Linked DNA regions of Homo sapiens: all the other regions are linked to region 2. Evidence: promoter capture Hi-C in human tissues and cell types (Jung and others, 2019). All regions are on one chromosome and are shown on one strand. Each heading gives the region's core, a stretch centred on a gene start or on the middle of the fragment in contact. The rest is flanking DNA. Distances are from core to core; before and after follow the strand shown. Region 1 overlaps MGA (MAX dimerization protein MGA). Region 2 holds the start of ITPKA (inositol-trisphosphate 3-kinase A). Region 3 overlaps OIP5 (Opa interacting protein 5). Region 4 overlaps MGA (MAX dimerization protein MGA). Region 5 overlaps MGA (MAX dimerization protein MGA). Region 6 overlaps CHP1 (calcineurin like EF-hand protein 1). Region 7 overlaps MGA (MAX dimerization protein MGA).

Region 1 (3,657 bases), core at 918-3,417, 170 kb after region 2:
CTAGTCATAATAGGAAACAATAGTAAACCTTTTGAAGTCGTGATTTTAAAAATATCTATTATCTGTAGACTAACAGATATTTTAAGCTTTGGAGCTGTATGACCAATCTTGTAAGAAGAGGTAAAATTCAGATTAGGTGCTTTTGCTGCTCATCATTAGCTCTGATGAAAGGTAAAATACTTTTTAATTATAATGAAGAAGACTAATAAGTGGCTGAATTTGATTAAGATTACTGACCCACTTACACAGGAGTGGTGGTGATGTAGCATCTTCCTTTTTGTATAAAAACTGGAAGCTGTAGCTTTAATTTGGCATATGAGTTCGGTTGATTTTAGCAATCAGATTTCGTTTTGGTTTTTTTTTTTTGAGACAGGGTCTCACTCTGTCATCTAGACTGGAGTGCAGTGGCACCATCACAGCTCACTGCAGCCTTGGCCTCCCCACCCCCAGGCTCGAGGGATCCTCTCACCTCAGCCACTCAAGTAGCTGGGACTACAGCTACACACCATTGTAGAGATGGAGTCTCACTGTGTTTTCCAGGTTGGTCTCAAACTCCTGGGCTTAAGCGATCCTCCTGCCTCAGCCTCCCAACGTGCTGGCATTATAGGCATGAGCCACCATGGCCGGCCTCATTTCTTTATTATAACTTTTTATTGAGATATAATTCACATAACATATAATTCATCATTTTAAAGTATACACCAAAAAGAAATCCCACACCCATTAGCAGTTAGTCCCAGTTACCCCTTCCCCTGAAACCACTAATCTACTTTGTTTCTCTAGATTTGCCTGTGTTGGACATCTCATATAAATGGAATCATACAATATATGTGACCTTTTTCTTTATAACCTTTAATAATTAACTAATTTTAACTTTATTTTTTATTTTTTTAAAGAGACGGGGTCTCACTCTGTCTCCTAGGCTGGAGTGCAGTGATATGGTTATGGCTCACTGCAACCTGAACTTCCAGGGCTGCTGAAGGTGTCCTCCTGCCTCAGCCTCCTGGCCACCATACCTGCTATTTTTTTTTTTTTTTTGGTAGAGACTGACTGGCTATTTTGACCAGGCTGGTCTTGAACTCTTGACCTCAAACGTTACTCCCACATGGGCCTCCTAAAGTGATGGAATTACCGGTGTGAGCCACTGCACCTGCCCACCTGGCCTGTGTTTTAGTTTTTAAAGGTTGTGTGTTCACAAGACACAAAATTTACAAAGTGTAAAAGGGTATCTTTTCCAAGTCATCAAGTTTTCCTTGGATATGACCAATACTACTGTTTTCTTTTCTGTCTTTCCAGAGATAGTCTGTGTAAAGCAAATATGTACATGTTCTTTTTCATTCTTTGGCTTTTTATTTATTTTAAAGACCGAAATACTGTCTATTTCTTTGATTTTAAAAAGGAAAAATCTTTTACAAGGGTTGAAAAACTACCTATCAGGTACTATGTTCACTGCTTGGATGATGGGATCATTAGAAGCCCAAACCTTATATTATGCAGTAGACTCATGTAAACAAACCTGCACGTGTTCTCCCTGTCTGAAGTTTAAGAGGTACAATAAAAAACTTTTAAAAGATGTGTGGCATAATTTACAACTCTTCTGAACATTTTACGCTTAATATATCTTGTAGATACTTTTTGCATGCATTCATTAAGCTTATACATTCTCTTTTGTGACTGTTAACATTCCACTCTATGGATGTGTCATCATTTGTTTTACCATTTTAAGGACTTCTCTCTTCCTGTCTAGTCTTTTGCTGTTATAAGTGGGAATGCAGGGGATAATCTTGTATAGATATCATTTATCACAGGTGTGTGTATTTAAAATAAAGTCCTATAGTGGGTTTTAACAGTGAATTAAGAAAACTTAAAGTCCTGGGAACAATTCTTTGTCATAGGATGATATATGGATTTGTACTTTTGATATTTTCAAGTTGCCCTCTCTTAGAGATTCTATTATTTTATACTCCCAGTAACTGCTTAGGGGAGAATGCTGGTTGACCTAACCCTTTCCAGCACTACCAGGCTTTGATTTTTGCCAGTCTGATAAGTAAAAAAACAGTATCTCAAGATGACTTTAATTTGCTTTCCTCTTAACTATGTACATATTCATAGCCATTTGCGTTTATTATCCTTTACTCATTTTTCTGTTAGGTATTTGGTCTTGTTGATTTGTAGGAAGCCTTTAAAAATTATTATTACTGTTAATGTATTTTTATTTTTTTTTTTGAGTCAGAGTCTCGCTCTGTCACCCAGGCTGAAGTGCAGTGGTGCCATCTTGGCTCGCTGCAACTCCACCTCCTGGGTTCAAGCAATTCTCTTGTCTTAGCCTCCCGAGTACCTGGGATTATGGGCGCACACCACCATGCCTAGCTAATTTTTTTATTTTTAGTAGAGACAGGGTTTCACCATGTTGGCCAGGCTGGTCTTGAGCTCCTGACCTCAAGTGATCTGACCTCCTTGGCCTCCCAGAGTGCTTGGATTACAGGCGTGAGCCACTGCTCCCCCGCCGCTATTATTTTTTAATAGAGACGGACTTTCACTACGTTGGACAGGCTGGTCTGGGACTCCTGACTTCAAGCAATCCTCCTGCCTTGGCCTCCCAAAGTGCTGGGATTATAGGTGTGAGTCACCATGTCCAGCCCCCTTTTTATATTAGGGAAAGGAGTTCTTTATAAGTTGCAAATACCTTTTCCTGGTTAGTTTGCTTTTTGATTTTGCTTAAATGATTTTGCCAGATTAAAAAATTTACAGAATATTAAATTTTATTTTATTTTTATTTCTTTGAGACGGAGTCTTTCCCTGTCACCCAGGCTGGAGTGCAGTGGCGTGATCTTGGCTCAGTGCACCTTCTGCCTCCTAGGATCAAGTGATTCTCATGCCTCAGCCTCCTGAGTAGCTGGGACTACAGGCGTGCACCACCACACCAGGCTAATTTTTTAATTTTTAATAGAGATGGGGTTTCGCCATGTTGGCCAGGCTAGTCTCGAATTCCTGGCTTTAAATGATCCACTGGCCTCAGCCTCTCAAAGTGCTGGGATTGCAGGTGTGAGCCACCACACCTGGCATCATATAGTATTAAATTTATCACTTTTTTTTTTTTTGGCCTTACTGGTTTTAGATTTTGTGTCTTATCAAAAAACTTTTCTCAGGATTTAGGAATAAAAAAATTAAATATTAGAGTCATCTGGAATTTATTTCAGTGTAAGGTCCATTGAGTTCCAGTGATTTGTCATGGCTTCTTTAAACGTGTGTACTAAGAAGTTAGATAGCTTTTTACTTATTTATGGAACCATGTCTTCTGAACCATATGAAGAACTAATTCTGTACAATTAGCTCTTTGGGATGAAAATGGAACTTTACTTATTTAATTTACTCATCACTGGGGAACTTGCTATATAAAGGAATCTTCTGGTAAATTCATAAAGTGTTAGGATGCTTTAAAAATGCATAACCTTCAAATTTAACTTTTTAATTTTGTATACTTTTTTAATAATGAATATACTCTTTTGTTTCTTTGTGTGAGATTATAGTATTTATAGTGAATTGTTAGAGGATTAGGATATAAGCACCTTAACTAATTAGATTAAAATGAACTTTAAAAAATGATTAGATATTCCAGAGTAAATATTCTTACTGTGATTGAAAGAAAAGCTTAGA
Region 2 (3,917 bases), core at 885-3,384:
CTTGGGTTTCCTCCCAGCCCCGTCTCTGAGGGCAGCACCTTCCCACATCCTGACGCAGGTCAGTGTAGCTGTGAAGGAGGCAGAGGAGTGAGTGTCTGAGACACGAGTGATCCAGGTCCTTCAAGCTGCAGAGTACATCCCTCACACACATACTCAAGATTCCTCCAGATGGTTGTCCTAGAGAAGGTGGCGATGTGATTTCCCAGGTTCTCCGTGAAGTAGTCAAGTATTCAAACTCCTCTATGCCCTTCTTCCTCTTACCCCTTCATTCCCTCTATTTCTCCTGCCTCTCTCATTGCCATTCTTTCTTACATTATTTTGCTTCCTTCCTCAGTTCTCCAGGATCTTCACCTATTTGTTTATTTTGAGATAGCGTATGACTTGTCACCCAGACTGCAGTGCAGTGGAATGTCATGGCTCTCTGCAGCCTCGACCTCCTGGGCTCAAATAATCCTCTCACCTCAGCCTCCTAAGTAGCTGGGACCACAGGTGCATGCCACCACACTCAGCTTTTTTTTTTTTTTTTTTTTTTTTTTTTGAGACAAGTTATCACTCTGTTGCCCAGGCTAGAGTGTGGAGTGTGGTGGTGGAGTGTGGTGGTGATCTCAGCTCACTGCAGCCTCGACCTCCCAGGCTCAAGTGATCCTTCCACTTCAGCCTCTCCCCGAGTAGCTGAGACTACAAGTGCACACCACCACACCTGCCTAATATTCTGTATTTTTAGTAGAGACAGGGTTTTGCCATGTTGCCCAGGCTGGTCTCGAACTCCTGGGATCAAGCAATCTGCCCGCCTTGCCCTCCCAAAGTGCTGGGGTTACAAGCCTGAGCCACTATGCTTTGCCGAAGATTCCCGTCTTCCCACTGAACCTTCTTCTTTCCTTCTCCTGGGCCATTCCTGAGCCCTGGCTGAGGGGAGAGAAGGGAAGGAAAGCCCCTCCTGCGGCCATCTCAGCATCCAAGGCAATCCTTCTGGGGCTGCTCTGTCTCCAGGGCCCCAGCCATCCCCAGACACTGAGTGCCTGAGGGGGGACCCTCACTCCTGTGGCACTATGGTAAGATAGGAAACAGTGGCTTCTCCTCAAAGCAGCCTCGCCGGTCGGTCAGCTGACTACCAACATGGGAAGTGGCCGAAGATCCACATGGAATGACACTGATAAGCACTTTGCAGTGTCTGAAACTCTTAAACATCAGTGCTGTCTTCCTAGTTTTACAGACACAACTCTGTGGGTTGGATGAGGTTTTTCTAAATGTACAAATGCAGAAATATACGGAGGGAGTAAAGGGACTGCCTACAAATCACATCTAGAGTGTGGTGTACCTGATTTCAAGTCTTTTATTTTATTCTCGCAGCAACGGGAGAATCCGCAGTCGAGGGAGGTGAAATGACTTGCTGAACGCCACACGGCGGACTCCAAGCCCCGAGCTCCTATAACAGAGGAGGAGGAAGGCGGGCTCAGCTCCTGCCACCCAGCAGCGGGGGAGATGCAGCCCGGGACTAGGCTGGGCCATGGGGACAGATCCAGGCCCCGCCCCCTGACCTTGTTCTCTGCCCGCCGGGAAGTGGGGAACTTGCGGGGAGCAGCCTCAGCTAGTCCCTGGGGCAGAGTCTCCACTTGGGTGCACGCCCTGGGGTGGGGCTTCTTCGGGAAGCCGGGGGCCTTCAACTCTGCTCAGGAGCTCGGGCCGGAGAAAGGCCCCGAGACTTGAAGCCCTTGCCCGGGAGGGATGAACACGCAAAGGAACCCGAGGAACGGGGTAGGGGACCAAGAGTAGGACCAGCTTCTCCTGCGCGGGGACAGGGCCTGTGGAGCGGCCTGGAGGAATCTCTCCCAGCCGCGAAGCCCGGGAAGGCTGCGAGGCCCCAGCGCGGAGCGGCCCCTCCCACCTCCCCGAGGGCAGGCGGAGCGAAGCCTCGGGGCCCGGGCCCAGGTTTTGTGCCTACGGAGGCTGGACTTCCCCGCCACCCCGAGGAGTCACCGAGAGCCTTCTCTCCCTCGCAGGGGCCCTGGGAGGCCCGCGCTTTCTCTGAAAGTGGAAGGAGTGGGCGGGGGGCGCGGCCGAGGCGGGGCGCGGGCGTGCAGCGGCGCAGGCTCCGCCCCGGGGCCGTCTCCAGCCGGGGGCGCCGAGCCGCTCCAGTCCCCGGCGCGCCGCGGGCTGGTGGGCTCAGCGGCGGCGCCGGCACTGGGAAATGACCCTGCCCGGGGGCCCAACGGGCATGGCGCGGCCGGGGGGCGCGAGGCCCTGCAGCCCGGGGCTGGAGCGGGCCCCGCGCCGGAGTGTCGGGGAGCTGCGCCTGCTCTTCGAGGCGCGCTGTGCGGCGGTCGCTGCGGCCGCCGCCGCGGGGGAGCCCCGGGCCCGCGGGGCCAAGCGGCGTGGGGGACAGGTCCCCAACGGGCTTCCGCGGGCTCCCCCGGCCCCGGTGATCCCTCAGCTGACCGTGACAGCCGAGGAGCCCGACGTGCCCCCGACCAGCCCTGGGCCGCCGGAGCGGGAGAGGGACTGCCTCCCGGCAGCGGGCTCTTCGCACCTGCAGCAGCCGCGCCGCCTTTCCACCTCGTCGGTCTCCTCCACTGGCTCCTCGTCGCTGCTCGAGGACTCGGAGGACGACCTGCTGAGCGACAGTGAGAGCCGGAGCCGCGGCAACGTGCAGCTGGAAGCGGGCGAGGACGTGGGTCAGGTACGGGCCGCGGGGGCGGGGCCAGCGCCGGGCGCGGGGGCTGCACGGGGGACCTGGCTGGGTGCTCCCGGAGGACCCGCTCCTGTCCATGCTCCCTCCAGCGGAAGGTCCTGTTCTCGCGGTTTAGGAGGAATCTGGGGGTCAGAGGGAGGCGCCTGGCCGACCTCTCGCCTGGGCAACTTTCACCTCGGCTCCGCCGGCGGGTCGTGGCGCTGGCCCTGGGGCGTCTAAGAAGCGGGGCGAGGAGCAGGCGACCCGCCGCGGGGACTGGGCGAAGCGGGGGTAGCGGACCTTGTTGGCTGTGGGTTAGGACAGGAGGGATCGGAGGGGCTGAGCCTTGCCGGGTGAACCCTCGGAAGGAGAGAGGCGAAGGAGAGTTTCCCTTACCCCCCGCCCCCTCTCCGGTGCCGCGGCCGCACCCCCGCCGTTGCCACGGTTTCCCTCTCCTGAGTGGGAGTGGAGCGGCGCTCCAGGCTCTGCTCGGGAGCCGCTGCCGTCTGCTCCCAGCGCCCGCACGAGGCGTGGACGCAGGGGAGGGAGGGGCGTGGGCCTGGGAGCTCTGGCTGGGAGCGGAACGCAGCCCACCCAGTGCGCGCCCTGCCTCCCATCTTCCCGGCTCGCCGCTCCTGAGCGCGGCAGAGAGGGGCGGTAAACTGAGGCTGCAAGGGGGCAGGATCACTCTGCTAGTCTCTGCCTCTGATAGCCTGGGTGTTCTGGGACCAGGTCTGACCCTCGGAAAACACAGCCCTGGGCACTGTTAAGTCATTCCTGACGCCCGCCACTTAGGGATGTGCGGCTCCCGGGACACCCTCCTTGTTCCCCTCGTTTTAACCAAGGCCAAATACCTTGAATAACTGTCCGTGGTCAGCGCGAAGGACTTTCTTTAGATCCACGTTTCGCAAGTGTCCCTGAGGCCGAGGAAGAGGCGAGGGGCGCCCCCGGCCTCGGGCGTCTGGGGCCTGCCCATAAGTCCGGGTCGGCGCGGCGGGGCGGGGAGAGCTGTGGCCGCGCGCCTGCTCCGCCGCACAATCGGCTGGGACAAGGCAGGGAAGCTGTGGCGACCTGCAGGGGTTCACAAGCCCGGAGGCCGATGGGGTTTGTCAGTGACACCAGAGGGGAAAAGCCTCACAGAGCAGGAACACCCCCCGCCGCCAGGTGCTGGGTGCGCCGGCTCGGTCACTAGCCTGCCGCTTCCCCTTCTTCCCCGGTGGTCAGAGCAGCCCCGGACCCAGGATCGTTT
Region 3 (3,947 bases), core at 713-3,212, 180 kb before region 2:
GAAACCCCATCTCTACTAAAAATACAAAAACAAAATTAGCTGGGCACGGTGGCGGGCGCCTGTAGTCCCAGCTACTCAGGAGGCTGAGGCAAGAGAATGAGTGAACCCAGGAGGCAGAGCTTGCAGTGAGCCAAGATCGTGCCACTGCATTCCAGCCTGGGTGACAGAGCGAGACTCCGTCTCAAAAAAAAAAAAAAAAAAGATCCTCAGATGTAAAGTTTCGTGTGAAAAAAGACAAAACATTGCTGAGCAGCACTGCTACTGTGAAGATGAATAAAGTCTGGTCACAGTGCTTTGTGGAGACAGGCTTCTCCTCCTTTTCCAGTGGCAAGAATTTAGCTTTTCTTTTAACACTTTGTTAACAGTAACAAATGCCTCTCTGACTTTAACATTCTACTAATGGTCTGCAAAGTTAACTCTGGTTATTAGGTTTAGAACAGATAACTGTTGCAATTAGGTAATTTTTAAGAGTTCTTACAGCTATATTTAGCATGAAATTTAGTGTTGTTACTCAGCAGGGCAAGAGCAGTGGCTTCTGATAATCTCCATTCGCCCCTCCCAGCATAGGATTTCCACCCTACAAGCAAGCTGGGGGCAAGGGCAACTGGGTTCCCAGCTACTGGGGAGGCTGAAGCAGAAGCACTTGAACCTGGCACTCACACCTGTAATCCCAGCAGTTTGGTAGGCCGAGGCGGGTGGGTCACCTGAGCTCGGAAGTTCGAGAACAGCCTGGCCATCATTTTTAGCAGAGATGGTAAAACCCCGTCTCTACTAAAAATACAAAAATTATCTGGGCACGGTAGTGCGCGCCTGTAGTCCCAGGTACTCAGGAGGCTTTTTAGTATTTTTAGTAGAGACAAGGATTCTCCATGTGGGAGAATCGCTTGAACCCGGGAGGAGGGGGTTGCAGTGACCCAAGACTGTGCCACTGCATTCCAGCCTGGGAGGCAGAGTGAGACTTTGTCTCAAAAATAAATAAACAAATAAATGTTTCTGTATTTGCCATATACCTTGAAGAAAATTTCCACAGACTTAAGATGGTTGTTTCCTTTATAATATTCTTCCTGGATCCTATCCATGGAACTCCTCATACTGCCATTCCAAAGTCATTTCCCATACCAATTATTATTATTATTATTTTTGAAATAGATTCTCACTGTCACCCAGGCTAGAATGCAATGGCGTGATCTTGGCTCACTGCAACCTCTGCCATCCAGGTCCAAGCGATTCTCCTGCTTCAGCCTCCTGAGTAGCTGGGGCTGGGATTATAGGCGCCTGCCACTGCGCCTGGCTAATTTTTCTAGTTTTAGTAGAGACGGGGTTTCACCATCTTGGCCAGGCTGAACTCCTGACCTCATGATCCACCCACCTCGGCTTCTCAAAGTGCTGGGATTACAGGTGTGAGCCACCGCACCCAGCCAATAAGAATTCTTTTTTTTTTTTTCCACACAGAGTTTCGCTCTCAATGGCAAGCTCTCGGCTCACTGCAACCTCTGCCTCCCAGGTTCAAGCGATTCTCCTGCCTCAGCCTCCCGAAAAGCTGGGATTATAGGCATGCGCCAACACGCCCGGCTAATTTTGTATTTTTAGTAGAGATGGGATTTCTCCATGTTGGTCAGGCTGGTCTCAAACTCCCGACCTGAGGTGATCTGCCTGCCTCAGCCTCCCAAAGTGCTGGGATTACAGGCATAAGCCACCATGCCCAGCCTTCTTTTTTTCTTTTTTTTTTTTTTGAGACAGATTTTCACTCTTGTTGCTCAGGCTAGAGTGCAATGGCATGATCTTGCCTCACAACAACCTCTATCTCGCAGGTTCAAGTGCTTCTCCTGTCTCAACCTCCCAAGTAGCTGGGATTACAGGCATGTGCCACCACGCCCGGCTAATTTTGTATTTTTAGTAGAGACAGGGTTTCTCCATGTTGGTCAGGCTGGTCTCGAACTACTGATCTCGGGTTATCCATCCGCCTCAGCCTCCCAAAGTGCTGGGATTACAGGCGTGAGCCACCACGCCCAGGCAAGAATTATTTTTTTTTGAGACGCAGTCTCGCTCTGTTGCCCAGGCTGGAGTGCAGTGGCGCAGTCTCGGCTCACTGCAACCTCCACCACCTGGGTTCAAGCGATTCTCCTGCCTCAGTCTCCTAAGTAGCTGGGATTACAGGCGCCCACCACCATGACCGGCTAAATTTTTTTTTTTTTTTTTTTTGAGACAGAGTCTTGCTCTGTTGCCCAGGCTGGAATGCAGTGGCGCAATCTCAGCTCACTGCAACCTCCACCTCCCAGTTCAAGCAATTCTCCTGCCTCTGCCTCCCGAGTAGCTGGGACTACAGGCACGTGCCACCACGCCCGGCTAATTTTTTGTATTTGTAATAGAGATGGGGTTTCACTGTGTTAGCCAGGATGGTCTCCATCTCCTGACCTCATGTTCTGCTCGCCTTGGCCTACCAAAGTGCTGGGATTACAGGCGTGAGCCACCACGCCCGGCCAGGAATTCTTAATAACTGTTTCATCACTCTTATGTCTGAGACAGTTGAGCAATTACAAGGTATTTGCAAAGAAGACACCTCTATGGCAAGATGATGATATCCATTCCCAGCACAAAGGAGAATGCAGGAGTGCAGCAGTTGAGCAGCTTTTCCTTTCTTCCTGAACTATACCTTACAGTGTGGTTTTAGTATTTTGTTTTTCATTACAAATTCAATAGGGAAGGTCAAATCAAGTAAAAAGGATTATTGAGCATCATGCCATTTCATCATCCCCAAGTTCATTGGTAGAAGTTATCAAGAGTTGTCTGTATTTTAAAAAAGCATACAACCATCATGAAATTTTACCTCTGCAATCTTTTCTGATAGAGGAACATTTTGAATATCCATCTCTGATGCATTTACTATGGCTTTTGTTTTTAAGAGATAGCTAGATAGGAAAAAAGAAAAATATTAGTGTCATACCATGGTTAAGATTATAAAAGAACCAAACTTACCTTCTAAAGAAAGTATGTGTCAAAAAAAGCCTGGCTTCTTAATGATTTTCATTTCAAGACTCATGATGTTACAGTTGGCCCACCATATCCATGGGTATAGCATCCATGGATTCAAACAACCACAGACTAAAAATATTCAGGAAAAAAAAACTGGATTGTGTCTGTACTGAACAGGTACACTCTTTTTCTTGTCATCATTCCCTTAACATTACAACAACTTTGTAAATTTCCTATGTAAATTTGTAATGTACATAGCATTTACATTACGTTAGCTGTCATAAGTAATCTGGAGATTATTTTAAAGTATAAAATATATACTTTTATACTTTAAAAAGGAGGATATCCAAAAGTAATATGCAAATATTACACCACTTAATATCAGAAACTTGAGTGTCCATGGATTTTGGTATCTGGTGAGGTCCTGGAACCACAGATACTGAAGGATGACTGCATTTTCTTGGAAAAACAAATTCAAAAATAAACAAATTGGAGAGGATCTCTGCCGCATCCCACCAGAGACAAAATTATCTCAGGGTAAATTAAAGACAAAAACCAGGCTCATATGAATAATTACGATGATTATAAGCTTTACACTTCATCAGTAGGATCCTGTAGCACAGTTTGAAAGAAAGTAATCCCAGTATGAGACATAGTGTTGGTCACCTATTCCCAGTAGCTGTTCCTCACTTTTTTTTTTTGAGATGGAGTCTCGCTCTGTTGCCCAGACTAGAGTGCAGTGGTACAATCTCAGCTCACTGCAACCTCTGCCTCCTGGGTTCAAGCGATTCTCCTGCCGCAGCCTCCCGAGTAGCTGGGATTACAGGCTTGCGCCACCACGCCCAGCTAATTTTTGTATTTTTAGTAGAGATGGGGTTTCACCATGTTGGCGAGGCTGGTCTCGAACTCCTGACCTCAGGTGATCCCCCTGCCTGGGCCTCCCAAAGTGCTGGGATTATAGGCGTGAGCCGAGC
Region 4 (3,600 bases), core at 831-3,330, 250 kb after region 2:
GCGCAGTGGCTTACGCCTGTAATCCCAGCACTTTGGGAGGCCGAGGTGGTGGATCACCTAAGGCAAGGAGTTTGAGACTAGCCTGGCCGACATGGCAAAACCCCATTTCTACTAAAAATAAAAAAGTTAGCCCGGCGTGGTGGCGCGCGCCTGTAATCCCAGCTTCTTGAGAGGCTGAGGCAGGAGAATCATTTGAACCTGGGAGGTGGAGGTTGCAGTGAGCTGAGATTGTGCCACTGTATTCCAGCTTGGGCAACAGAGGGAGATTGTCTCAAAAAAAAAAAAGTGCACTTTTATATTAGAGTAGCAAATGTGTGGAAGTGTCTGATATTATTGCAAAGTTAGCTTGACTTTCATTAGATTGGCTGCTTCTAAGTCACTAAGGACTTCTCCATTAATAATATGATTGATATAGGCTGGGCATGGTGGCTCACACCTGTAATACCAGCACTTTGGGAGGTGAAGGCGGGTAGATCATGAGGTCAGGAGTTCAAGACCAGCCTGACCAACATGGTGAAACCCCATCTCTACTAAAAATACAAAAATTAGCCGGGCATGGTGGCGTGTGCCTGTAATCCCAGCTAGGAGGCTGAGGCAGGAGAATCGCCTGAACCTGGGAGGCAGAGGTTGCAGTGAGCCGAGATCACGCCACTGCATTCCAGCCTGGGCGACAGAGTGAGACTCCATCTCAAAAGAGAAAATAATATTAATATGATTGATCTACTTAATTAAAAAACTTATTATTGCAGTTTACTGTTGTGCATGCTATGTAAATGCTTCTGTTGATATTTCTTATACTCTTGATGAGGAGAACAGTATTTTCTCTACCTTATATATTGATTGACACTTTGAAAACAGAGGTTTGCCTGATACAATTTCTAGTGAGACTAGACTCCCTAAAATACAAGCATGGAAATTTTTTGTTGTCTTCTGCCCAGGACTCACAAAGCCACCATAGAATGTGTCTGCATAAGCAGTCAGGCAACTGTAAACTTTGTAAACTTTGGGGAAGCTGCAGAGTAGGCTTCAGCGCAGTCCCAAGGGATCCGGGAGGGGGTATCTGACCTATTTCTGTATAGCCTGAAAAGTTACAGTAAAGTCTACTTTCAGGGGGAATGATCACATTCTTTGTACCAAACTCAAGGCAGAGATATTCTTGATCTCTGTGGGAATAATCACAATTTAACCAAAGTAGCAAAGAGTAATTTTGTTTTGTGTCTCTGAAGATGGAGTTGCTTGCTGTAGCTGGTCTCCTCACCAGTTCCCTGTTAGAGAGTAGATTCTACCTCACTCCATCTCCCCCAACCCCCGATTTTGAAATGGTGAAAAGGAAATATAGAAAAGGTTATCTTCTCTAGAGTTGCCTGGCAATATGACCTAGAGAACATGGGTAGAGACTTGGGAAGTTTTTGTTTTCTTTCTTTAAAAAAAAAAGAAAAGAAATCAACCCCCACAAAAAACAACTGTGCTGGTACCCATGATGGGCAGTCTGATAAACTCAGGCAGCAGAGGGGATCTTTACTTCATTTGTTGGTTCACTTTCTTCTGACTATTTAGTTAATTATGTCTAGAATAAGAATGAGTTCGTACCAACATTCAGTTTGAACCCATGTTTTATCCAAGAGATGAAAATAGTATTTTCAAAGCTAAGCTTTTTGAAAATGAAAAACTGTGAGGTAATTGTGGCTTAGGTTATTGCAACAATGATTGTCTTATAACTTAAAGTAGATTTCACTTATATTTTTCAAATATGAAGGATGCTTGAAAGGACCCTTGTGTGAGAGCTTCATTATGTCTCTCTGGTCTTATCAGAGAGATTCTGTGGGACACTCATTTTTGCTGATGAGGTTAATAGCTTAACCAGAATGCCTTATTTACAAGGAAAACAATTGGATAATTCTAGTTGTTTAGATTTGATGATAACTTTCACATAACTAGGATGCAGAAATGATGAGTTTCCGATTCTCTATTTTCAAACTACAATATGAAGGAGATGAGATTAGTTCAGAATATCAGTTGACAGCATTTTTCTACCTTCTGATTACTCAGATTATTCTAAATGGAAAAAGTCTACTTCTTTTTCCCTTTTAAATCTGAAAAATAGACTTATGAAAACTTGTAAAAATGAAGCCCCTGTCAAGGGAGAGGAGTTAGCAAGAGAATTTTATCTTTACAGAATTTCTCTTTGCCACTTGTTTCAGGTTAATGGTAAGAGTTACCCGCAGGCTAAGTTGCTATTGGGACAGATGGGGGCATTGCATCCAGCCAATAGGCTAGCTGCTTATATCACAGGCAGGTTGCGACCCTCAGTCCTGGACCTCTCAACCCTCAGTACTGTCATCTCCAAGGTAGCATCCAATGCCAAGGTGGCTGCATCCAGGAAACCACGTACCCTGTTGCCTTCAACATCCAATTCCAAAATGGCATCCTCCTCTGGCACTGCAACAAATCGCCCTGGGAAGAATCTGAAGGCGTTTGTCCCAGCAAAACGGCCAATTGGTAAGTTGGGGTGTATGTATGGTTTGGAAAGGCCTATGACTTGGTGGTGGGACAGTGGGTACAGGTATGGAGGTTGTAAAAATTAGAGAAATATGTACTTTGGCATTATTCTTATTCTTGTTGTCTGTCTTGCCTGGACTTTTTTGATTGTTTGGGGTTAACGTCTGATAACCTGCAATATTAGATGAATTGAGTTGTTTTATAGTTAATTTCTTGGTTTTATATATATTTTTTATTTTTTAATAACACTGACTTGAAGGCAAGTTTTATAGTTATTTTTAAGGTTTTCAGACTGGTTGTTATTAATGTAGAAAAGACTTAAGGATTTTAATTTTGTTTCTAAAAAGGGAAGACATTTAAAAATAGTTTACTATTATACTAAATTATTTACTAAAATATTTTACTAAATTAAAAATAGTTTACTATTTTCCTGTGAGGACTGGTGTTTCTGGCCTCTTGTTGAACTCTTGCTGGTGCTATGTAAATGCTTCTGTTGATACTTCTTAAACTTATGAAACCAAGGAGCTAGCAAAAGCTAGTGGTGTAAGTAGTATAGGCTTAAAGTGGAAAGCTCCTATAAATACAATTTTGAAAGTGTTGATTTATTCCATTCATCTCTGTTCTATGAATGAAAATCTCTCTTTTCCTTAACATTTAAATGCTGAAGTCTGTAATAAATTACCTTCTTGAAACATTTGTGTTTTAGCATTGAGAGTATCTATAGTTGGTTTATTGAATTCCTCTTTTTGTTGTTTCAAATCTGTTAGGAATGTTAGGTAAGAGTGTCAGTTGAAATCTCTGGCTGAATGGTTAGAGTTGTGTGAAGATAGAAGATATTTATTGTTTGCCTTAAAACCTATTTTGGCCGGGCGCGGTGGCTCACTCCTGTAATTCCAGCACTTTGGGAGGCCGAGGCGGGTGGATCACGAGGTCAAGAGATAGAGACCATCCTGGCCAACATGGTGAAACCCCATCTCTACTAAAAATACAAAAATTAGCCGGGAGTGGTGGCATGCGCCTGTAGTCCCAGCTACTGGGGAGGCTGAGGCAGGAGAATCACTTGAACCCGGGAGGCAGAGGTTGCAGTAATCCGAAATCGTG
Region 5 (3,734 bases), core at 880-3,379, 210 kb after region 2:
TCAAGAGGTCTGCCCGCCTTGGCCTCCTGAAGTGGTGGGATTATAGGCATGAGCCATTATGTCTGGCCGGTTTTAATGTTAATTTCCTTTATGAGTAATGACAATATTTCAAGAACTGTCTTCCTCTTCCTTTTTTAGTAATTTAATAAAAATGCTTTATTTTTCCTTAAAATATTTTTTTTTAGAGATGGGGTCTCCCAGTTTTGCCTAGGCTTGTCTCAAACTCCTGGCTTCAGCCCATCCTCCCAAGTAGCTGGAATTACAAGTGTGAGCCATGGTGCCCTGCAGTAAAAAAAAAAAAATTCTGAATGTTACATTAAATTAGTGATTAGCGGCCAGGCGCGGTGGCTCACGCCTGTAATCCCAGCACTTTGGGAGGCCAAGGCGGGTGGATCACAAGGTCAGGAGATCGAGACCATCCTGGTAACACGGTGAAACCCTGTCTCTACTAAAAATACAAAAAATTAGCCAAGAGTGGTGGTGGGCACCTGTAGTCCCAGCTGCTGGGGAGGCTGAAGCAGGAGAATGGCTTGAACCTGGGAGGCGGAGCTTGCAGTGAGTGGAGATCGTGCCACTGCACTCCAGCCTGGGTGACAGAGCAAGACTCCGTCTCAAAAACAAAACAAAACAAAAAAAATTGGTGATTAGCTGGAGTTTTCCTTATAATATGTGCTTTTCTATTCTGTGTTTACTACTTATATAGGTGTTTATAGAACTATAAACATCTTGAGTGTACTTTTGTATTTCAGTGGTTTTAGCTAGCAGTTGGCATTTTTGGCTATATCTTATTGTAGGTGAATCTGTCTTTGCTTGAATCTAAAGGTTATCTCTTTTCAGCTTTATCTTTATGAGTCTTTTTTTGTAATGACATTATAACACATTTTTAAGAAGTAGCTTCTAATATGGTGAAATGAAGCAAAACGATTTAGAAATATAGTTTAAACTGACATGTAGACAAGATTTTAGGTTCTAAGTAGGCTCTGGTTGAATAAAAATATAAAAAGATAATAGGTTTTTCACAATATGCTTTCTATGAATTATTCAGCCAAATTATTTTCTGCAAGCTAAAGTTTTTATGCCCATTTCATATGAAATCAGCTGAGTCTAGGTCTCAGTTGTCTGTTACTTGGGGAAGGATTTTCTTGCATGACCTCAGGTGATCTGCCCACCTCAACCTCCCAAAGTGCTGGGATTACAGCTGTGAGCCACCATGTCCGGCCTCAGATTTCTTTTTGTTTACCTCTCGTAGGGACTTATTTACCCTATGCTACCTACTGAAAGTCAGTTGGGAAAACATAACACTAAAGCTTCTTGAGGTCTTTTTTTTTTTCAAGACAGGATTTTGCTTTTTTGCCTAGGCTGGATGGAATGCAGTGGCACGATCATGGCTTGCAGTACCCTCAACCTCCTGGGCTCAAGCAGTCCTCCCACCTCAGTCTTCTGAGTAGCTGGGATCACAGGCACGTGCCATTACACCCAGCTAATTTTTAAATTTTTTGTAGAAATGGGGTCTTAACCTGTTGCCCAGACTCATCTTGAACTTTCGGGCTCAACCAGTCCTTCCTCTTTGGCCTCCCAAAGTGCAGGGATTACAGGTGTGAGCTGAAATGCCAGGCCTGCAAAATGTCTTTTATCTCTCTGAGATCACCTGCTTTACAGAGAAAGTGCAGTAGATTCTCAAAGCATACAACTGAATGTGGTGGATTGGTGTTCATTTTACTGTTGAGAAAACTAAAGAGAAGTTTAGCCCAAGTCATACAATTAAAAAGTAGTAAAGGCAAGATTAGAAATCATTGTTTTGACTCATTATCCTATATTTCCCGTAGTTGATTGGGAACATGAGGAAAGGCTGTTTTATTTGATTGATGTTTTAATCATACTGTGTGATTAAATACAATAAATATGTAATACAGGCCAGGTGCGGTGGCTCAGGCCTGTAATCCCAGCACTTTGGGAGGCCGAGGCGGGCGGATTACGAGGTCAGGATTTCGAGAGCAGCCTGACCAATATGGTGAAACCCCGTCTCTACTAAAAATACAAAAATTAGCCGGGCCTGGTGGCACACGCCTGTAATCCCAGCTACTTGGGAGGCTGAGGCAGGAGAATCGTTTGAACCAGGAAGGCGGAGGTTGCAGTGAGCCGAGATTACACCATTGCACTCTAGTCTGGGCAACAGAGTGAGACTCCATCTCAAAAAAAAAAAAAAAATGAATAAATAAATATGTAATACAATAAAGATATGTTAAAGAACTGGAATTGCAAACTAAAACAAAATAGCTGTCTTTTTTTTTTTTTTTAAGAGATGTGGTCTTCCCACCTCAGCTTTCCAAGTAGTTGGGCCTACAGGTGCACGCCACAGTGCCTGGCTTGCCATCTTTTGTTCAGATAGATTTTATGTATAGGATACATGGGGTTCATAACCTACCTAATGTCTTTACCTGTTAGAGAACCAGCACTACGTGAGCTTTTTACTGGAAACTTACGCCTGTGACTTTTAATGGCTTTACTATGATACTTAACACTTAGCTTTTTTTTTTTCCCTTTTTTTTTTTTTGAGATAGAGTCTTACTCTGTCTCCCAGGCTGGAGCGCAGTGGCATCATCTCGGCTCCTTGCAATCTCTGTCTCCCAGGTTCAAGTGATTCTCCTGCCTCAGCCTCCTGAGTAGCTACAGGCACATGCCACCACACCTGGCTAATTTTGTACTTGTAGTAGAGATGAGGTTTCACCATGTTGGCCAGGCTGGTCTCGAACTCCTGACCTCAAGTGATCTGTCTGCCTTGGCCTCTCAAAGTGCTGGGATTGCAAGTGTGAGCCACCAGCTCCGGCCAATAATTAACGCTTCACTTTGAACTTCTTTTGGCTTCAGTTTTATTAAAATTTAAGTTAAATACCTTCCCAAAATATTGCCTCTTAACCTATAAATAAGGAAGTCATAATATTTTTAGGCTTGATTAACCATAAATGTCATTAATAAGGACTAGAGAACCAGTAGCCATAATCAGGCCAGCAGCTTAGTCTATGGTGAGTTTGTAATAGAGGCCTTAGACAGTCTCTGGACCACAAAGAGTTAAAGCACAAGAGATCTGAATTTTGCTCTTTTTTAATTAGTTACCTTGCTTAATAAATTATCACAAACTTAGCAACTTAAAACGATATATTTACTGTATCACAGTTTCTATGTGTCAGCAGTCTGGGCATAGCTTAGTTGGGTCCTCTGCTTAGGGTCTCACAAGGCTACAGTCAAAATATTGGCCAGGCCTGGTTTCTCAGAGACTTGGTTGGAGAGGGATCTGCTTCCAGTTTCCCTCAGCTCATTGGCAAAATTTATTTCATTGCAGCTCCAGCAAGATGGATAACTTGTGTTATCACATGCACATTATCATGCACGTCCCATCTCCCTTACCACATTTTATTGATAAGAAACAAATTACAGGCCCTGCCTACCATAGTCGGGGTGAGGGGAGTTATACAAATGTGTAATACCAGATGTCATGGATCATGGGGCCACCTTAAATTGAATCTGCTACAGTTTGTTTTTTTCATTGTTTTTGCTCTTCACTATCTCCTTTCTCTCTCGACCTTACCCCCCCGCCATCTCCCAGGCACAAGTTAAAAACAAAGAAGGGAGATAATATGATTTCTGATTAATCTATGGAAATATGATTTCCTTTTTTCTTTTAGTGGGCTTAAAATTGAATTCAGTGGATCCAACAATGAGCATTGATCTTAAAT
Region 6 (4,199 bases), core at 1,149-3,648, 260 kb before region 2:
CTTGCTCTGTCATCCAGGCTGGAGTGCAATGGCATGATCACGGCTCACTGCAGCCTCAAGCTTCTGGGCTCAAGCAATCCTCCCAGCTCAGCCTCCTGAGTAGCTGGGACTACAGGCACATGCCACCACGCCTGGCTAATTTTTTAATTTTTTGTAGAGATAGGGTTTCACCATGTTGCCCAGGCTGGTCTTGAACTCCTGAGTTCAGGTGGTCCGCTCATCCCAGTCCCCCAAAGTGCTGCGATTACAGAGGTGAGCCACTGGCCAGGAACTTTTTTGCGGGGGCAAGGAGGGGATGGTGGTCCAGACCAGAGAGTAGTTGGAGGTTTATTCATTCAGAAGATAATTGACCCCAGCAGCAGCTGCGAAGATATAAGCTTTATTTTTGTAAATTTCTGGATAAACCATTTGAAAGTTGCAGGTATTGGAACTCTTTACCCCTTCATACTTCTGCATGTATCCCTTAAGTATTGGGATGGTTTTTACGTAACAACAATACTATTATCACACCTAAGAAAGTTGATAATACTTCTTAATACTATCTTTTTTTTTTTTTTGAGACAGAGTCTTGCTCTTGTTGCCCAGGCTGGAGTGCAGTGACTCGATCTCAGCTCACTGCAACCTCTGCCTCCTGGGTTCAAGCCATTCTCTTGCCTCAGCTTCCCAAGTAGCTGGGATTACAGGTGCCTGCCACCAGGCCTGGCTAATTTTTTGTATTTTTAGTAGAGATGGGGTTTCGCCACGTTGGCCAGGCTGGTCTCGAACTCCTGACCTCAGGTGATCCACCCACTTCAGCCTCCCAAAGTGCTGGGATTACAGGCGTGAGCCACCGCACCTGGCCCCTTTTTTTCTTTTTCTTTTTTTTTTTTTAATTGAGATGGAGTTTCACTTTTGTCGCCCAGGCTGGAGTGCAGTGGCGCGATCTCAGCTCACTGCAACCTCCGCCTCCTGGCTTCAAATGATTCTCCTGCCTCAGCCTCCCAAGTAGCTGGGATTACAGGCATGTGCCACCACGCCTGGCTAATTGTTTTTATTTTTAGTAGATACGAGGTTTTACCATGTTGGCCAGGCTGGTCTCGAACTCCTAACCTCAGATGATCTGCCTGCCTCAGCCTCCCAAAGGGCTAGGATTATAGACGTGAGCCACCTTAATATTATCTATCATTCACTTCCTATTCAAATTTCTCCAATTATAAGAAGATAGATTTTGTTTGTTTTATATAATGTTTTAAAATCTCTCTTAATCCCTAAGAGACTAGTCCAGGGCTTGAAGTCTTCATGTCAGGGGGAATGTTAAGGTGTAGTCTATTCCGGGAAGCGCAGGCTTCAACTTTCCTTTATCTAGAGCTACCTTTAGCTGTACTTGTAATCTTTACATAGGTTATCAGTCTGTTCTTCTGCATTAAGATTTGGAATAAAGGCAAGGACAAAATAACTTTTTCTTTTCTTTTTTTTTGAGATGGAGTCTCGTTCTGTCACCAGGCTGGAGTGCAGTGGTGCAATCCCGCCTCCCGGGTTCAAGGGATTCTCCCGCCTCAGCCTCCTGAGTAGCTGGGACTATAGGCACGTGCCACCATGCCCGGCTAATTTTTGTATTTTTAGTAGAGATGGGGTTTCCCCATGTTGGCCAGGATGATCTTGATCTCTTGACCTCGTAATCCACCCACCTCCCAAAAGTGCTAGGATTACAGGCATGAGCCACCATGCCTGGCCCTCCAAAATAACTTTTTCTTACTCCCTTTTTGTTTTTATTCTTTCCTCTGCCACTTCTGCTTCGCACTTCTGTGAAATGCCTTCCTCCTCTTTGCACAATGCAGTGATGATAGAAAGATTTCAGCAACGTTAACAGGGTCTTTTTTTGTTTTTTTGGCGTGTGTTTTTTTTTTGAGACAGGGTCTCACTCTGTCACCCAGGTTGGAGTGGAGGGGTGTGATCATAGCTCACTACAACCTTGAACTCCTGGGCTGAAACAGTCCTTCTGCCTCTGCCTCCTAAATAGCTCAGCGTACAGGAATGCACCACGATGCCCAGCTAATGATTGATTGATTGATTATAGAGATGAAGTCTTGCTTTGTTGCCCAGGCTAGTTTTGAACTGGCCTTTCGTCAAGGGATCCTCCCACTTTAGCCTCCCAAAGTGCTAGGATTACAGGCATGAGCCACTGCCCTCAGCCAAACAGGGTCTTTTAAATAATCTTTTAACAATTTAAAATGATTATATACCCATACCAGTGGAGAAAAAATACAGCTTCATTCAAGACATGTTTATAGCAGGGCACGGTGGCTCATGCCTGTAATCCCAGCACTTTAGGGCGGCTGAGGCGGGTGGATCACGAGGTCGGGAGATCGAGATCATCCTGGCTAACACGGTGAAACCTGGTCTCTACTAAAAATACAAAAAAAAAAAAAAATTAGCCAGGCATGGTGGTGGCAGGTACCTGTAGTCGCAGCTACTCAGGAGGCTGAGGCAGGAGAATGGCCTGAACCTGGGAGGCAGAGTTTGCAGTGAGCCAAGATCGCGCCACTGCACTCCATCCTGGGTGACAAAGCAAGCCTCCATCTCAAAAAAAGAAAAAAGACACGTTTATATGCACGGCCTTCTCTGAGAGTAACTGTCAACTCCTGTTATTTCCTTTGGGTTACCAAGAATTGTGCAGGTTTTGGGCACCTATCTGACTAGCTTAGAGCCTTCTGGGGAAAATACTTCACTGGAAACATGATCTGCCTTCATTCACACCAGTTCCAGTACCTTTCTACACATGGATGGTGTAGCTCCTTTATAGGTAGATTGGGATTGTTCTGAGATTGCTTTATATTCTTTGTCACAGTGAATTTAGTACCTAAATTAAAGCCTTCTCTCCTTCTTTTTGTTAACAAAATTACTTGTAACCATATCGTTATGGTTCTAAAATTTGTTCTAAAATTTTGGAGATAAGTTTAGATATGACCATATTGATTAGTATTAAAAGTTGACATTTGGTTGTATGTTTCTCCACTGACTCCCATATAACCCAGTTCGTCCTGGAAGATAGTTTTTTTTTTTTTAATGTTTTGGCTACTTATTTACATTATTTATTTTTAACATATTAGTACATTATTTTTTGTTATCGTTTGTTTTGTTTTGTTTTGTTTTGAGGCGGAGTCTCACTCTGTCGCCCAGGCTGGAGTGCAGTGGTGAGATTTCAGCTCACTGCAACCTCCATCTCCCAGGATCAAGCGATTCTCCTGCCTCAGCCTCCCAAGTAGCTGGGATTATACCACCACACCTGGCTAATTTTTGTATTTTTAGTAGAGACAGGGTTTTACCATGTTGGCCAGGCTGGTCTTGAACTCTTGGCCACAGGTGATCTGCCCGCCCTCAGCCCCCCAAAGTGCTGGTATTGCAGGCTTGAGCCACCAGGCCTTGCCACATTTTGAATTTAAGCAGCCATAAACTGGTCTTAACATACTATAGGAGGTTTCAGTGCCCAGTTATTTTATTTCTTTTTTATTTATTTATTTTTTCGAGACAGAGTCTCCTCTCTGTCACCCAGGCTGGAGTGCAGTGGCGCAATCTCAGCTCACTGCAAGCTCCGCCTCCCAGGTTCAAACCATTCTCCTGCCTCAGCCTCCCGAGTAGCTGGGACTACAGGTGCCTGCCACCACGCCCGTCTAATTTTTTGTATTTGTAGTAGAGACAGGGTTTCACCGTGTTAGCCAGGATGGTCTCAATCTCCTGACCTCGTGATCCGCCCGCCTCGGCCTCCCAAAGTGCTGGGATTACAGCTGGGATTACAGGTGTGAGCCACCACGCCCAGCCTCAGTGCCCAGTTATTTTAGATGATATAGATTAGAAAGATGTTTAATGGCTCATTTGTGGATTTTTTTGGTTTAAAATAATTTTATTTTTTATTTTTATTTTTATTTTGTTCCCCAGCCTGGTCTTGAACTCCTGGCCTCAAATCATTGTCCTGCTTCTGCCTCTGGAAGTGCTGGGATTATAGGCGCCAGCCATCATGCCTGGCTCTCATTTGTTCATTGAAGGGGTCGGATTAGATAACATTTCTACCAATTTTAAAATTATATAAATTGGATAAAGAAGGACTCCAAAGCAATATAGAAAAAGTATGAATTACTAAATGAAAAGCAAGCTATTACAACTTTGTAAAGTACACGAGTAACTGATATTAGATGATATATGAAGAGCTGGGCGCGGTGGCT
Region 7 (3,848 bases), core at 337-2,836, 190 kb after region 2:
TCCTGGGGTCAAGTGATCATCCCACATCAGCCCCATAGGTAGGTAGTTGGGACTACAGGCATGAACACTTGGCTAATTATTTTTTGTAATTTTTGTAGAGATGGGGTTTCGCCATGTTGCCCAGGCTGGTCTTGAACTCCTGAGCTCAAGCAATCTGCCCGTCTTGACCTCACAAACTGCTGGGATTACAGGCGTGACCCACCGTGCATGGCCTAAGCACCAGTTTTGTTTTTTTTCCCTTTCCTTTTTTTAAAAAAAATTATTTTTATTTTATTTTAAGTTCCTGGATACATGTGCAGGATGTGCAGGTTAGTTACATACGGCATGCTAAGCACCAGTTTTACGGAAGGCGTTATAATATGGGTTCTTCCTGTGTGCACCCTTATTGCCTATATGTATGTTTATTATAGCATCTGTTAAATTGCATCATATTGTCTACTTGTCTGTCTCCTGCACTGGCCTGTAAATTCCTTGAATGTAGAGACAGTGCTTTATTTACTTTGTTAATCTCTGTGCCTAACAAAATGTCTGGCATTACTGGGCACTCAGCAAATGTTAAGTGAATGAGTTTTATCATGAGTATTTAAAACTTTCTTAATGTGTCTTAGAGTGGCTGGTGTTCGTCACACATTAATATGTAGTGTTATTTGTTGCATTGATTACATAATGCCAACAAAAAAAATCCTTTTAATTAACTGTTGTTTGTAATTCATTGATTTTGCCTAGGTATTCTTTTGCCTAATTTATTTGGATAGAAGAGACTTCTCAGAAGAATGAAACTTAACTGTTTGTGAAATTTTTTCCCCAAGGCAAGATTTCATTCATCATGTATAAAGTTTTTGTTGGAAAATAGAAGAAATCCTTTCTGAGAGTGTTTATAACTTACCAAGTTCAATTTCTCAGGAAGATGTGAAAGCAGTTATTGCAGTAGCAGCCCAGATCTAGCCTCAGAGGTTTCCCAGCTACTGCGAACAAATGCATGTTGTGTGCTAAATGAAAAGAAGATAAAAAATTTTTTTCTACATTATGAGAGTTATGTCTTGAAATGTGAAGATATCGAGAGAAAAATAGCAAGTTATTTAAGCATTAATCTTAAATTACTTGATATAGAATGTCATTTATATGTGATATACATAAGAACTGAGATAACTGGGAAAGGGAAAAGAGTGGGCTTGATTATGGAAATTGATTGGCTTGTGGCTTTTCTGTAGTTTTTGCTTGCTTAATCTTTAAAAACAGATAAAGGGAAACTGGATTTTGGTAATGGCTAATAACTATACATTTATTAAAAATTATTGAGTTAACACTTAAAATGTGGGTGGCTTTTATATTATGTAACTTATACAGTAAAGTTTTAAAAAAATTGATAAAGAGAGAGCTGTTTTCACCAGTTAAGTGAAATGTTTGAAAGGGGGAAGTTGTTTTGGTTTTCACATTTAATTCTGTGATCTGTCTTGAATTATTAATAATTTTTGTACATGCTGTGAAGGGTCAGGGTTCGTATTTTTCCATGCAGATGGCTAGGTGCTCTAGCATCACTTATTGAAAATAATTTTCTCCATTAAGTTGCATTGTTGCTTAGGAAAATCAGCTGACTATATGCGCACAGGTAGGTTTATTTTATACTAAATTCTGTTTCATTGATTTATTTGTCTATGTTTTCTATTATTTTGGGCAATACCGTGCTGTCTTAATGGTAGTAGATTTATAATAAGTCTTAGAATCTGGTAAGGTAAGCCTTTGAACCCCCCATTATTTTGGTTGTCCTGGGTTCTTTGTATTTCCACATAAATTTTGAGTCAGCTTTTCAGTTTCTGTGAAAAAACCCGCTGGAATTGCCTTGAATAATAGATCCAGTTGAAAAGACTTGATATCTTGACATCATTGAATATTCTGTTAAACAAGGTATATATCTCTGTTTATTTAGATCTTGTTTAGTTTATCTCAACCATAATTCATTCTTTTCAGTCTTTAATTAAACTTATTCCTAGGTGCTTTAAAAAATGATCCTTGTAATTGGCATTTAAAATAATTTTCCAGTTTTGGCTGGACGTGGTGGCTCATGCTTGTAATTCCAGCACTTTGGGAGGCCGAGGCGGGAGGATCAGGAGGATCATGAGGTCAGGAGATGGAGACCATCCTGGCTAACACGGTGAAACCCCGTCTCTACTAAAAATACAAAAAGAAATTAGCTGGGTGTGGTTGCGGGCACCTGTAGTCCCAGCTACTCAGGAGGCTGAGGCAGGAGAATGGCGTGTACCCGGGAGGCGGAGCTTGCAGGGAGCCGAGATCGTGCCACTGCACTCCAGCCTGGGTGACAGAGTGAGACTCTGTCTCAAAAAAAAAAAAAAATAATAATAATAATTTCCCAATTTTTTGATAGTATATAGAAATCCAGCTGAGTTTTACTAATTTATAGAGTCCTTTAGAAATTTTCTACATGTACAGTGTTACCTGTGAACAAATTTAGTTTTACATCTTCTTTCCAATCTTTATGCCTGTTCTCTCTCTTGCTTTATTGCATTGCTTGGACTCCCAGTACTGTGTTGAAAATAAATTTTGAGGCAGGGTGTGGTGGCTCACGCCTTTAATTCCAGCACTTTGGGAGGCCGAGGTAGGAGGATCACTTGAGCCCAGGAGCTTGAAAGCAGCCCTGGAAACATAGTGACACCCACCCAGCTCACCCCCATCTCTATAAAAACTTAAAAAAATAATTAGCTGGGCATGGTGGCACACACCTGTAGGCCCAGCTACTTGAGAGGCTGAGGTGGGAGGATTGCTTGAGTTGAGCCTGGGAGGTTGAGGTTGCAGTGAGCCATGGTTGTACCACTGCATGGGCAACAGAGTGAGATGCTGTCTTAAAAAAAAAATTTTTTTTTTGAGTGGTCATTCATGTCTCCTGATCTTAGAGAAACTCATTCTGTATTTTTTATAGCATGTTGGGTGTAGTTTTTGTGTAGTGCTCTTTATCATGTTGAAATACTTTCCTACTGTTACCCATTTTCCTGAATATTGTTAAGAATGAGTGTTGAATTTCATCAAATGATTTTTCTAAATCCATTGAAATACCATATGTTTTTTCTCCTTTATTTTGTTAATATGGTGAATTAACATTGATTTAGAGGGGAGGGGTGATCTTACATTCTTGGGCTAAACATTACCTGGCCATGATGATATCATCCTTTTTAATATTACTGGTTTCAATTTGCTAATATTTTATTGAGGATTTTTGCACCAAATTCATGTGGGATATTTGTTTATAGTTTTATTTCTGATGTGTTAGCAGTAGGGTTATGGTTACCTCATAAAACACGTTGCAAAGTGTTCTGTTTTCTGTATGTGCTGAGTTTGTGCAAGATTGCTGTTTTTTTTTTCATTATGTATTTGATAGAATTTATCAGTGAAGCCACAGAGTTTTCTTGTTGGCAGAATTCAAATCATGACTTCAAGTTCTTTGTTTTTTTCTATTTCATTGATTTTTCTCTCATCATTAACTCCTTTGTTCTACTTGTTTTTGGTTTAATTTGCCTTAGATTAGGGTTTGGTGGACTAAGACCCATGGATCATATGTGCCTACCGTTGGTTTTTACTTGGCTTGTAAGCTAAGAATGATTTTTAACAGTTTTCAGTGATTGGGGAAAAAAAATAGTTATTTGTGATGTGAAAATTAAAGTTCAAATTTCAGTGTCCTGTTTTTTGGAAGACAGTCATGCTTGTCTTTTGTATTTGTATTTTGTATTTGTATTTATTTTATTTTGTTTATGTATTGTCTGTAGCTTGAGTAGTTGCAGTAGAGACTGTATGGAATGCAAAGCCTAAAATTTTTACTGTTTAGCCCTTTACAGAAA

Evidence for each region. Contacts are between HindIII fragments. The study calls those that stand out against the background at their distance.
Region 1: a fragment that was not itself captured here is called in contact with the fragment with the promoter of ITPKA in region 2 in 4 of the 25 tissues and cell types used here (IMR-90 fibroblasts, bladder, dorsolateral prefrontal cortex and 1 more).
Region 3: a contact is called between a fragment that was not itself captured here and the fragment with the promoter of ITPKA in region 2, in 1 of the 25 tissues and cell types used here (aorta).
Region 4: a fragment that was not itself captured here is called in contact with the fragment with the promoter of ITPKA in region 2 in 1 of the 25 tissues and cell types used here (heart right ventricle).
Region 5: a contact is called between a fragment that was not itself captured here and the fragment with the promoter of ITPKA in region 2, in 5 of the 25 tissues and cell types used here (dorsolateral prefrontal cortex, hippocampus, liver and 2 more).
Region 6: a contact is called between a fragment that was not itself captured here and the fragment with the promoter of ITPKA in region 2, in 1 of the 25 tissues and cell types used here (spleen).
Region 7: a contact is called between a fragment that was not itself captured here and the fragment with the promoter of ITPKA in region 2, in 4 of the 25 tissues and cell types used here (adrenal gland, bladder, mesenchymal stem cells and 1 more).

Annotation. Positions count from the first base shown.
Region 1 is chr15:41,665,039-41,668,695 of GRCh38, forward strand. All of the region lies in intron 1 of MGA (MAX dimerization protein MGA), which reads left to right. Among named protein-coding and RNA genes, the nearest start is that of MGA, 6.5 kb to the left of the region's middle. The HindIII fragment of the contact is 4,748 bases long and covers 1-3,657 here.
Region 2 is chr15:41,491,740-41,495,656 of GRCh38, forward strand. It overlaps ITPKA (inositol-trisphosphate 3-kinase A), which reads left to right and starts at 2,135. Exons shown (of 7, transcript NM_002220.3): 1 at 2,135-2,677. The coding sequence starts at 2,189. RefSeq lists enhancers at 1,037-1,537, 1,538-2,038 and silencers at 1,775-2,394, 2,415-2,594, 2,705-2,754. The HindIII fragment of the contact is 23,030 bases long and covers 1-3,917 here.
Region 3 is chr15:41,310,446-41,314,392 of GRCh38, forward strand. It overlaps OIP5 (Opa interacting protein 5), which reads right to left. Exons shown (of 5, transcript NM_007280.2): 4 at 2,828-2,909. It overlaps OIP5-AS1 (OIP5 antisense RNA 1), which reads left to right. Exons shown (of 5, transcript NR_152821.1): 5 at 1,453-2,893. Among named protein-coding and RNA genes, the nearest start is that of OIP5, 20 kb to the right of the region's middle. The HindIII fragment of the contact is 4,895 bases long and covers 1-3,947 here.
Region 4 is chr15:41,737,705-41,741,304 of GRCh38, forward strand. MGA (MAX dimerization protein MGA) reads left to right here. Exons shown (of 24, transcript NM_001400225.1): 14 at 2,202-2,499. Among named protein-coding and RNA genes, the nearest start is that of MAPKBP1, 35 kb to the right of the region's middle. The HindIII fragment of the contact is 7,051 bases long and covers 1-3,600 here.
Region 5 is chr15:41,704,045-41,707,778 of GRCh38, forward strand. It overlaps MGA (MAX dimerization protein MGA), which reads left to right. Exons shown (of 24, transcript NM_001400225.1): 6 at 3,684-3,734. Among named protein-coding and RNA genes, the nearest start is that of MIR626, 14 kb to the left of the region's middle. The HindIII fragment of the contact is 8,003 bases long and covers 1-3,734 here.
Region 6 is chr15:41,236,290-41,240,488 of GRCh38, forward strand. The region is part of intron 1 of CHP1 (calcineurin like EF-hand protein 1); the gene reads left to right. Among named protein-coding and RNA genes, the nearest start is that of CHP1, 7.1 kb to the left of the region's middle. The HindIII fragment of the contact is 5,914 bases long and covers 1-4,199 here.
Region 7 is chr15:41,683,668-41,687,515 of GRCh38, forward strand. All of the region lies in intron 2 of MGA (MAX dimerization protein MGA), which reads left to right. Among named protein-coding and RNA genes, the nearest start is that of MIR626, 6.0 kb to the right of the region's middle. The HindIII fragment of the contact is 8,932 bases long and covers 1-3,848 here.